Linked DNA regions of Homo sapiens: region 1 is linked to region 2. The links are contacts of gene promoters, found by promoter capture Hi-C in blood cells and fetal thymus (Javierre and others, 2016). All regions are on one chromosome and are shown on one strand. Each heading gives the region's core, a stretch centred on a gene start or on the middle of the fragment in contact. The rest is flanking DNA. Distances are from core to core; before and after follow the strand shown.

Region 1 (4,826 bases), core at 1,674-4,173, 220 kb after region 2:
CCGGGGAGGGCAGCGGGAGACCCCCTCGGTACTGGGGGCTGGAGGTGCCAAGGCCGAGGGGAAGGCCGCGGATGGCCAGAGGTGACCGTCCCCGAGGGGCGCTGACCTGCATCCGCATGGCGTTGGGCAGCAACACGCCGAACCTCTGCGAGAACTCCTCGAACGTGTAGCGGATGGGGAAGCCCGACTTGCGGATGTGCACGGTCTCCATCATGCCCGAGTATCGCAGCTGCCGCAGGCACAGCTCCCGGTCGAACAGCTGTGGGCGGACACCGGGCGCTGACCCAGCGCAAGCCCCACTTTCCAGCCACCCCCCTTCCCGGCACCCCACCACCGGGCACGGGCCCACAGCCAGAGGTCAGTGTGTCCAGCCCCCCGCCCCGCCCACCCCCACTGTCCTCCAGAGATGGAAGAACTAAACAAATGCGACTTCAGTAAGGCTACATTTTGAAGAGAGTAGTGCAAGTAGTTGAAAAACCCGTAATGTTGTCAAGGAGATAAAAGTCGATAGCATGGAAACTGTGGCACCCACAGAAACACAGCACTCCCATCACTGTCAACTACTCGAAGCGCTGTGAATGTAAACGTCCTCTGCACATGCCCAGTTTAAAATGCTTTTTTTAAAAAAATTTTTTAAATTTTATTTATTTATTTTTTTGAGATGGAGTCTCGTTCTGTCGCTCAGGCTGGAGTGCAGTGGCACGATCTCTGCTCACTGCAACCTCTGCCTCCTGGGTGCAAGCGATTCTCCTGCCTCAGCCTCCCGAGTAGCTGGGATTACAGGCGTGTAGCACCACGCCCGGGTAAGTTTTGTATTTTTAGTTAAAGACGGAGTTTCACCATGTTGGCCAGGCTGGTCTCCAACTCCTGAGCTCAAATGATCCGCCCGCCTTGGCGTCCCAGAGTGCTGGGATTACAGGCCTGAGCCACCGCGCCTGGCCCAGTTTAAAATGTTTTTAAGCGCCCCTTGCCTACATAGGTCGGGGTGGAAAGCTGCCCCGCAGGCACTTGCAGTTTCATGGTGCCTCCCTCACAATAGTTAAATGAAAAAATAAATCTACTCAGAGGCAGAAAATATCCTAATCAACTTAGTCTCTCCCTCCCTGGAGATGGAGGTCAGAGTGAGACCTGGAGTGGCTGGGGCGGAGGAGTGGAGGGCCTTTGGCCCCAGGGAGCTGAGCCGTCTTTTGCTTTGAGGCGAGTGTGACTGGCAGAGAAATGGCATGATGTCCTTCCCTGGGGTGTCAGGCTTCAGCAGGGGTTCCAAGACTCTGCCATGGCTTGGATTCTAGAGAGCCCCTCTCCACCTACAAGCCAGGAGTCTCTGAGGGACCCTGGGGAACGCCCTCTGATGTGGCAAACCCACCAGCAGGCACTGTTACCCCACCTGCAGGGTCACAGCGCCAACTGCTGGTGGGGTCCAGGCCACACTGAGCTTAGCCTCGGGTAAGTGTTTAGCTGCGCTTCACTGACGATTTCCTATGGGCCTGGTGTTTCTCACTGAATCTTTACAACATTCCTACCTGGTGGGGGTGATTGGCTCCAACTTAAAGATGAGGTGCTGAGGCATAGGGTTTTGCTTCTAAGGGGCTGAGCCTGGGTTTGAACCCTGAGCAGCCACCAATGAGAGATATCCCAGCCAGAGGCACTCTTAACCCCCGAGCTTCAGCCTCAGGCCTGCCTGCCTGTCCTGCAACTCCCAGCTCCCAAGGTAGGCAGGGTCTGAACGAGCCAAGGGTCTCTGGGAGCCCAGCTACTTCTCCCAGCAGTTAAGGAACAAGATAGGTTATCTCACATCTGCCTATTTTGCCTTCAAGGAAGATGCAACCTAGATTTCATAAGGCAAGCCTCATTTTATTTTTTTAGAGACAGGTCTTGCTCTGTCACCCAGGCTGAAGTGCAGTGGTGTGATCATAGTTCACTGCAGCCTTGACCTCCTGGGCTCAAGTGATCCTCCTCCCTCAGCCTCCTGAGTAGCTGAGACTACAGGCACATACCACCATACCTAGCTAATTTTTATACTTTTAAATTTTTTTGCAGAGATAAGGTCTTACTATGTTGCCCAGGCTTGCCTCAAGCAATCCTCCCGCCTCAGCCTCCCAAAGTGCTGGGATTACAAGCGTGAGCTACTGCACCCAGATCAAACTCGATTTCACATAGTTTTATTCTTTCCAAAAAGCATTTAATTTCATGTAATATTTTTATTCCCTTATGGGGATAAAACCATTTTATATTGTTTCAGCTGATGTCTCCTAGTTTGGGGAATCCCTGCATATGCGGCCTCTGGGTGGGACTCCCCACCCAATGGAGCAGGGACTCCGTTGTGGGCAGGGAGTGTGGGCTCTCACCCCCTCACCGTCTCACAGCAGGTAAAGCTGACTGTCTGCAGGGCTGGTGAAAGGAGTGGTGTCAGCCTCTAAAGTCCTATTACTGATTTCTGCCTTTGTTGAGTGTGGTTTACATATGGGACATGTACTGCAAACCTCATGTCCAACCCTCAGTGCATTCCTGCAGGCAGGAGCAAGTCTGACTTAACAGAAGGGAAAACTGAGGCTCACAGCAGCAAAGAGCCAGGCCAAGAACGCACAGAAGATGCATGGCGGAGCTAAGGGAACTGAGGTCTCAGCAACCCAAAGCTCTGCAGGTCACTGACCTTCACATGACCTAGTCTGGTCACCTTACCCCAGTGTACTTATCTGTAAGGTAGGGGCAGTAACAGCTCTAACGCTAGCCAGGCCCTGGCAGAGGGAGTGACCACAACCCTAGAGGCCATCAGCCTCCTCCTCCTCCCTCCTTTGCTGTGCCCCAGCCTCCTGTCATTACCAGCGGCTTCTTGTACTCATTAGGTTTGATGCAGCGGATGAAGTAAGGCTGGCAGTTGGTCAGGATTTTCATCAGCTGGTCCAGAGACTGTTTGAACTGGCTTCCTAAGGTGGAGGGCCGTTTATTTGAGTCTGCAGACTGTGAATGGAAGCACAGAGCACAAGTGGGTCTCAGGAGCCATGTCCTGGGACAGCTGACCCTGTAGGCCAGCAAGGGTTGCGGCCAAGGCCCCACAGGTGGGGTGGTGCATCTACCTATTCAAGAATCCACCCACCCACCCATCCATGTATCCATCCACCCACTCACCCATCCACCCACCCCTTCACCCATCCACTCACACACCTATCCATCCACCCACCCACCCATCCACCCGCCCACCACCCATCCACCCACTCACCCATCCTTCCACCTACCCAGCACCCATCCACCCACCCACCCATGCGTCCATCCATTCACCCACCCACCCACCCATCCATCCTTCCATCCACTCACCAACCCACATAGCCACCCGCCCATCCATCTATCCATCCACCCTCTCACCCATCCACCCACCCACCCATCCACCCACCCATTCACCCATCCATTCACCCATGCACCCACTCATCCATCCACCCACGCACCACCCATCCACCCACTCACCCATCCATCCACCTACTCACCACCCATCCACCCACTCACCCATCCACCCATGGCCCCACTAAGGCCATGCTCTCCACCCCTCTACCCAGGCGTGGCCCCCACCATCTACCCAGCACAAAGTCACTTCTCCTATCTAAACTCTGGACCCCCCAGATTCCCATTCCCACTCCAAACCCCCTTATATAAGCTGCCACATGCACCCACCCATGCACCCATTCATTCACCATTCCACCCACCCATCCATCCATCCACTCACCCATCCACACAGCCACCCACCCATCCATCTATCCATCCACCCACCCACCCATCCACCCACCCATCCATCCACTCACCCACCCACACAGCCACCTGCCCGTCCATCTATCCATCCACCCACTCACCCATCCACCCATCCATTCACCCATCCACCCACCCACCCGTCCATCCACTCACCCATCCACACAGCCACCCACCCATCCATCTATCCATTCACCCACTCACCCATCCACCCAACCATCGACACACCCATTCACCCATCCACTTACATACCCATCCACCCATCCACTCACCCACCCATCCATCCACCCACCCACCACCCATCCACTCACTCACCCATCCATCCACCCATCCACTACCCATCCACCCACTCACCCATCTATCCACCCAACCACCCATTCACCCGTCCATCCACTCACCCATCCATCCACTCATCCATCCATCCATCCAACCAACCAACCACACATCCATTTACCCATCCACCCTCACACACCCATCCACCCATCCACTCACCCACCCATCCATCCACCCACCCATCCATCCACCCACCCACCACCCATCCATCCACTCACCCATCCACCCACCCACTACCCATCCACCCACTCACCCATCTATCCACCCACCCATCCATTCACCCATCCATCCATCCATTGCAGGATTCCCAAGTGCCAACTGCATGCTGTGGACCCAGAGGTGAGTAAAACAGTCTTTCCTGTACATGTCTGTCTGGCCCTGTAGCCATCAGGGGTGACAGACCCAGGAGGGTGCCTGGGAGCCCACCTTGAAGAGATGGTTTCCTGCCTTTGCCTGGCGGATGGTCCCATGGCCCAGCTTGGTCTCTGCTAACTCCAAGTTGAATATCTCCCTCAGAAACTTGTTTTTGGAGGAGTAAACCAGGGTGAGGATATCTGTGCTCAGCACGTCTCGGTTCTTCTCCAGGAAGCCTGTGGAGACACAGGGCCCACCCAGCATCCCAGCTTAGCCATCACTGCCCACCCATGGGGAAGAAGAGGGCAGTGTGGGGGAATACAGGATGCGTGGAGGAGCCCCCTCCTACAATGGCCCCACTACGGCCATGCTCTCCACCCCTCTACCCAGGCATGGCCCCC
Region 2 (4,699 bases), core at 104-2,603:
GAGACCTTGTCTCTAAAAAAAGAAAAAATATAGAAGTTTATAAACATTTCTGATGTTATCATAAAAACTTTAGATACTGTGTAATGTCTGCATGATAGTCTACGTATGGATGTGCCATTATTTAATCACTGTCTGCTACTGTTTCCTTTTTTTTTTGCTATCATTAATACCTCAAAGATTAGTACACAAATCTTACTCACATCTCTGAGGCTATCCTTAGAATAGATTTTTGGAAGGGGATTATGGAGTCAAAAGTAAGACTTCTTTGAGACAGGGTCTTACTCTGCTTCCAAGACTTAAGTGCACTGGCACGATCTTGGCTCACTGCGCCCTCCAACTCCTGGGCTCAAGTGATCCTCCCACCCCAGTCTCCCAAGTACCCATCACAGGAACGATCACAGGAAGGCGGTCACAGGAACGCACCCCGACGCGCAAAGATGGGATCTCGCCATGTTCCCCAGGCTGGTACGATTCCTGATTCATACTGGAGAACAACTTGCTGTGCAGTTATATTTTGAACCTCATCAAAATGGAATCATACAGCGTCCTCTTCTTTGTGCCTAAGTTAACAGTAGCTGCTATTCGTTCAGGCTGTTGCGTTTATCCGTAACTTCCTATTTCTCTGTAGAAATCCACTGTATGATACACCACAATTTAGCCACTCAACTGCTGATGGACATTTAGGTTACCAGTTTTTTACTACTACGAATAAACGTGCTATGGACATTCTTGCACATGCCTTTGGTGGACGTATGCACTCATTCCTCTTGAAGTGAAATTTCTGGGGTCACAAGGTAAGCGTACATTTAGCTTTGGCAGAAACTGCAGCGGTTTTCCAAAATGGTTGCATCGTGGGGCTGTTTTTCTATCTTGGTCGCTGGACTTTAAGCGAGGCGTAATCTAGAGGCACAACTGGCTCGGGTAAGGCGTGGAGCCTGACTGTGTGCCGGGATCTGCCAGGGCTGCCACCAGCTAGCTGCACGGGTGAACAGACTCAGCAAGGTGCCACAGTGGCTTCCCACAGATCCACTCTCGGTGGGCTCGGTCCAACGACCCGCTATGTCTGCCGTACTGGCCCCGTACAAATATACTCATTCACATACTGGAAAACGGGGTGTTTTTCAGAGCATACACGTTAGCTCACACTGTAAAAAAAAGTCAGCACTGCGAAACGCAGTCGCTTCTTTCCTCCAGGAGGTAGCGCGTCCTACTCGCTCCGGAACAAAGGAAGCGCTCTGCAGGGTCTCGCGGCTCGGCACCTCACCTAGGCACATGCGCAGATCGAACCTCACAGAGGCCCGCGGTCCAGGCGCGCGTGACGTAGCGCCGTCCCGCCAGTGCGTGATGACCCCAGAGCGTGCGTTCGGTGGCCCATAGGGGAAGATGGCGGCTGCTCCTTTGGAGGAGCGGGATTGAGAGGATCGGGGTGGGGAGACCAAACAAGAGAGACATTTCTGGCTCTGAAGGCGAACGCTTCGCTGGCCATTTAGGAGCTCTGCTCAAAGCCAGACGGTGAGTGCGGCGGCGACACGGGACTGCTCGCCTGCAGCAGGCAGCGGCACTCTCCGCCATTTTCGGGCTCGGCCGTTGCGTGCTTTGGGGGCCTGGACGGGCGCCTGGGCACAGGTTGGAGGAACTGGGAGAATCGACCTCGGGGCGGCTGTTCGAGGCAGGTTCGAGACTTATGGGAGGGGGCTGGAGGCTGGAGGCCAACCGGGAAAAGCGGCCATGGTTAGAACTAAGGCCCTGACTGGGAGCGGTGGCGACGAGAAGACGTAAGTCAGGCCACAGTTAAGACGTGAAGTTTGGAGGGAAATGCATTTTAACTGAGGTTTGGGGCGGGAGTGGAAAGAAGTGGGCCGAGTTGAAGTAGTTGGTTGAAAGGGTCAAGGGAAGTTAACGTGAAATCTGCAAAACAGCTGAAGACTTAGCCGTGATGTTATCGTGGCTTGAAATCGGTGCTTATTATAAGGATGAGGCTACAGCTTGACAGGCAAAGCCCTGCTTTTTTGGAATAGTTGTATTTCTATTTGGTTTGTGCTAGATCCCTGTTTCTGATTTTAAGTTGTCTTCTGGCAACTAAGTAGTGAGGATCTTAGCATGCCTTCTTAAAAGAAATGACAATGAATGTTTGTACTTGGTTGTAACCCTTGGGATTAGTGGCCCCTTCCGGAGTAAGGAGGAGGCGGCGGCGGCAGGTCGGTAGGGAATTCCGTAATTGGATCTATTTAAATCAAATCAGAAAAATACGGGCTACTTGTAGAAAGCCTGTCAAGAATGTTTTAAAGTAGTTTCTACACACATGATCTTAAGTTGACTGTTCAGGAACTTTGGAAGACATTAGAATATGAACAAAAAGCCTGCACTGAAAGGAACAACTCTGGGGAGCGTAGACTTTACTTTTTTAGTACACTCTGGAGAGCTAATGCATGCTATATATACATATATATGTGTATATATGTGTGTGTGTATGTATATATAGCCTGTGAATATGGTGCAGTGGTAAACCTACTTAATTCAAACCTTTTAGTGACAGTTATGCTAGTTGTACCTCTTGTGGCATTTTTCATTTCCTCGCCTTAATTGCATTTTACCCATTTTTTATTACTGTAAGATACTTTTGCTTTTTTTGTCTCCTTGACCGGGAGAAGATAAAATATTGTATAGATTTGAGTTTTTGCTGAGACTTGAAGTTCCATATTTAGACTATCTTCTTGAAACTTGGGGAGAAATTTTAACTTGTCTTTCCTGTACTCCTAGGAAGAATTTTGGTAGAAAGTTGGCTTATGGCCGGGCGCGGTGGCTCACGCCTGTAATCCCAGCACTTTGGGACGCCAGGGTGGGCGGATCACCTGAGGTCAGGAGTTCGAGACCAGCCTGACCAACATGGCGGAACCCCGTCTCTACTAAAAATACAAAAATTAGCTGGGTGTGGTGGTGGGCGCCTGTAATCCCAGCTACTCGGGAGGCTGAGGCAAGAGAATCACTTGAACCCCGGAGGCAGAGGTTGCAGTGAGCCAAGATCGCGCCATTGCACTCTAGCCTGGGCAACAGAGCGAGACTCCGTCTCAAAAAAAAAAAAAAAAAAAAAAAAAGGAATTTGGCTTACATATATTACAATGGTTTAGACAAAAATAAATGTTTATCTGTGAAGCTGATGGCTTAACTTGGATAATTTTCTTTGGTTGGTGAAAAATACTAAACAGATTTTGCCATCACGGTTTTATATTGACGTAAGGCTTTAATTATATTTTTACTAAGCACTTAAGGTATTTATTCAGAGCTCTCTTTGCTAAGTAATAAGTTCATATACTTTTCCCATTACTTTGCGGTGGAATATTATTTGATTATGGCTGAAGTTTGAACTGCTTCATATTTCAGAATAGGATAGTAAGGTTACAGAAAAGCTTTATGATTACGACAAAGATATTAGTGAAAAATTTTCACTTATAAATGTGTTTCTGGAATTCTTTTTTTTTTTTTTTTTTTTTTGAGACAAGAGTTTCGCTCTGTCGCCCAGGCTGGAGTGCAGTGGCGCGATCTTTGGCTCGCTGCAAGCTCCGCCTCCCGGGTTCACGCCATTCTCCTGCCTGAGCCTCCCGAGTAGCTGGGACTATAGGCGCCCGCCACCGCGTCCGGCTAATTTTTTGTATTTTTAGTAGAGACGGGATTTCACCGTGTTAGCTAGGATGGTCTCGATCTCCTGACCTCGTGATCCGCCCATCTCGGCCTCCCAAAGTGCTGGGATTACAGGCGTGAGCCACCGCACCTGGCCAATTTTTGTATTTTTTAGTAGAGGCGGGGTTTCACCATGTTGGCCAGGCTGGTCTCAAACTCCTGACCTCAAATGATCCACCTGTCTGGGCCTCCCAAAGTGCTGGGATTACAGGCATGAGCCACCGCGCTCTGCTGAAAATGATTTTTCTTTGGTAACATTTATCTCCCCATTTCAAACCATTTACATTAGTCCTAGAGACTGAAGCTCTTCAGTGTATTGGAAAATCTGAGCAGTGCTACTCTCATCTGTCTGGCCCTTAAACATTTTACTAATTTTCTGGTAGTGACTGACTTTCTAAAGTTGTATTGTATCTTGTACTCATGATTTGTGTGCTTATAAATTCCCAGAGCTAGGTAGTATTGGAAAGGGCATGTATGGGTTTCAGCAGCAAATGGACCTAGGTTTGAATGCCAGGCTCACCATTAACTACCTTTTTTATATTGGGTCAGTTAATTAAACTCTCTAAGCTTCAGTTTCTTTGTATATAAGAATGTTAACTATAAAACCTAAAGGTAAAAAGTGCCTCATATATAGTAGGCATTCTTTAAATGTTAACATTTTTTTTCTTTCTGTGATGAATTTAATTGGTGACATCATTTTCAGTTTTAAACATTAACTCAAATATCTTTGTTGAAATTTACTGACAATCTCATTCCTCTGATAAGTTAATCACTCCTTTCTCTGCTATTAAAGCATTTTGTATATATCTTTAATGTATTTTGACTATACCTTCTCCACTACTTGTGAATACTTTGGTTTTTAGTTTGTTTGTTTGTTTTCTGAGACAGGGTCTCACTTTGTCACCCAGGCTGGAATACAGTGGCATGATCATGGCTCACTGTAGCCTCTAATTCCTAGGCTCAAGCGATCCTCCCACTTCAGCCTTTCAAAGTCTTGGGAGTCATGAGTCCCTGCTGCCAG

The links. The method cuts DNA at HindIII sites, captures the fragments that hold promoters and counts their contacts. A CHiCAGO score of 5 or more calls a contact.
Region 1: a contact is called between a fragment that was not itself captured here and the fragment with the promoter of WDR33 in region 2, in 5 of 17 cell types (naive B cells, total B cells, naive CD8 T cells and 2 more). The highest score is 8.8, in naive B cells.

What each region holds. Positions count from the first base shown.
Region 1 is chr2:127,588,227-127,593,052 of GRCh38, reverse strand. It overlaps MYO7B (myosin VIIB), which reads right to left. Exons shown (of 48, transcript NM_001393586.1): 15 at 4,498-4,661; 16 at 2,824-2,961; 17 at 107-259. Among named protein-coding and RNA genes, the nearest start is that of MYO7B-AS1, 40 kb to the left of the region's middle. The HindIII fragment of the contact is 8,153 bases long and covers 1-4,826 here.
Region 2 is chr2:127,807,825-127,812,523 of GRCh38, reverse strand. It overlaps WDR33 (WD repeat domain 33), which reads left to right and starts at 1,353. Exons shown (of 22, transcript NM_018383.5): 1 at 1,353-1,512. It overlaps LOC124907885 (a long non-coding RNA gene), which reads right to left and starts at 1,273. Exons shown (of 2, transcript XR_007087230.1): 1 at 381-1,273; 2 at 1-12. RefSeq lists enhancers at 1,052-1,121, 1,392-1,681, 1,702-1,781, 1,862-1,941, 1,348-2,288 and 1 more. The HindIII fragment of the contact is 7,008 bases long and covers 1-3,409 here.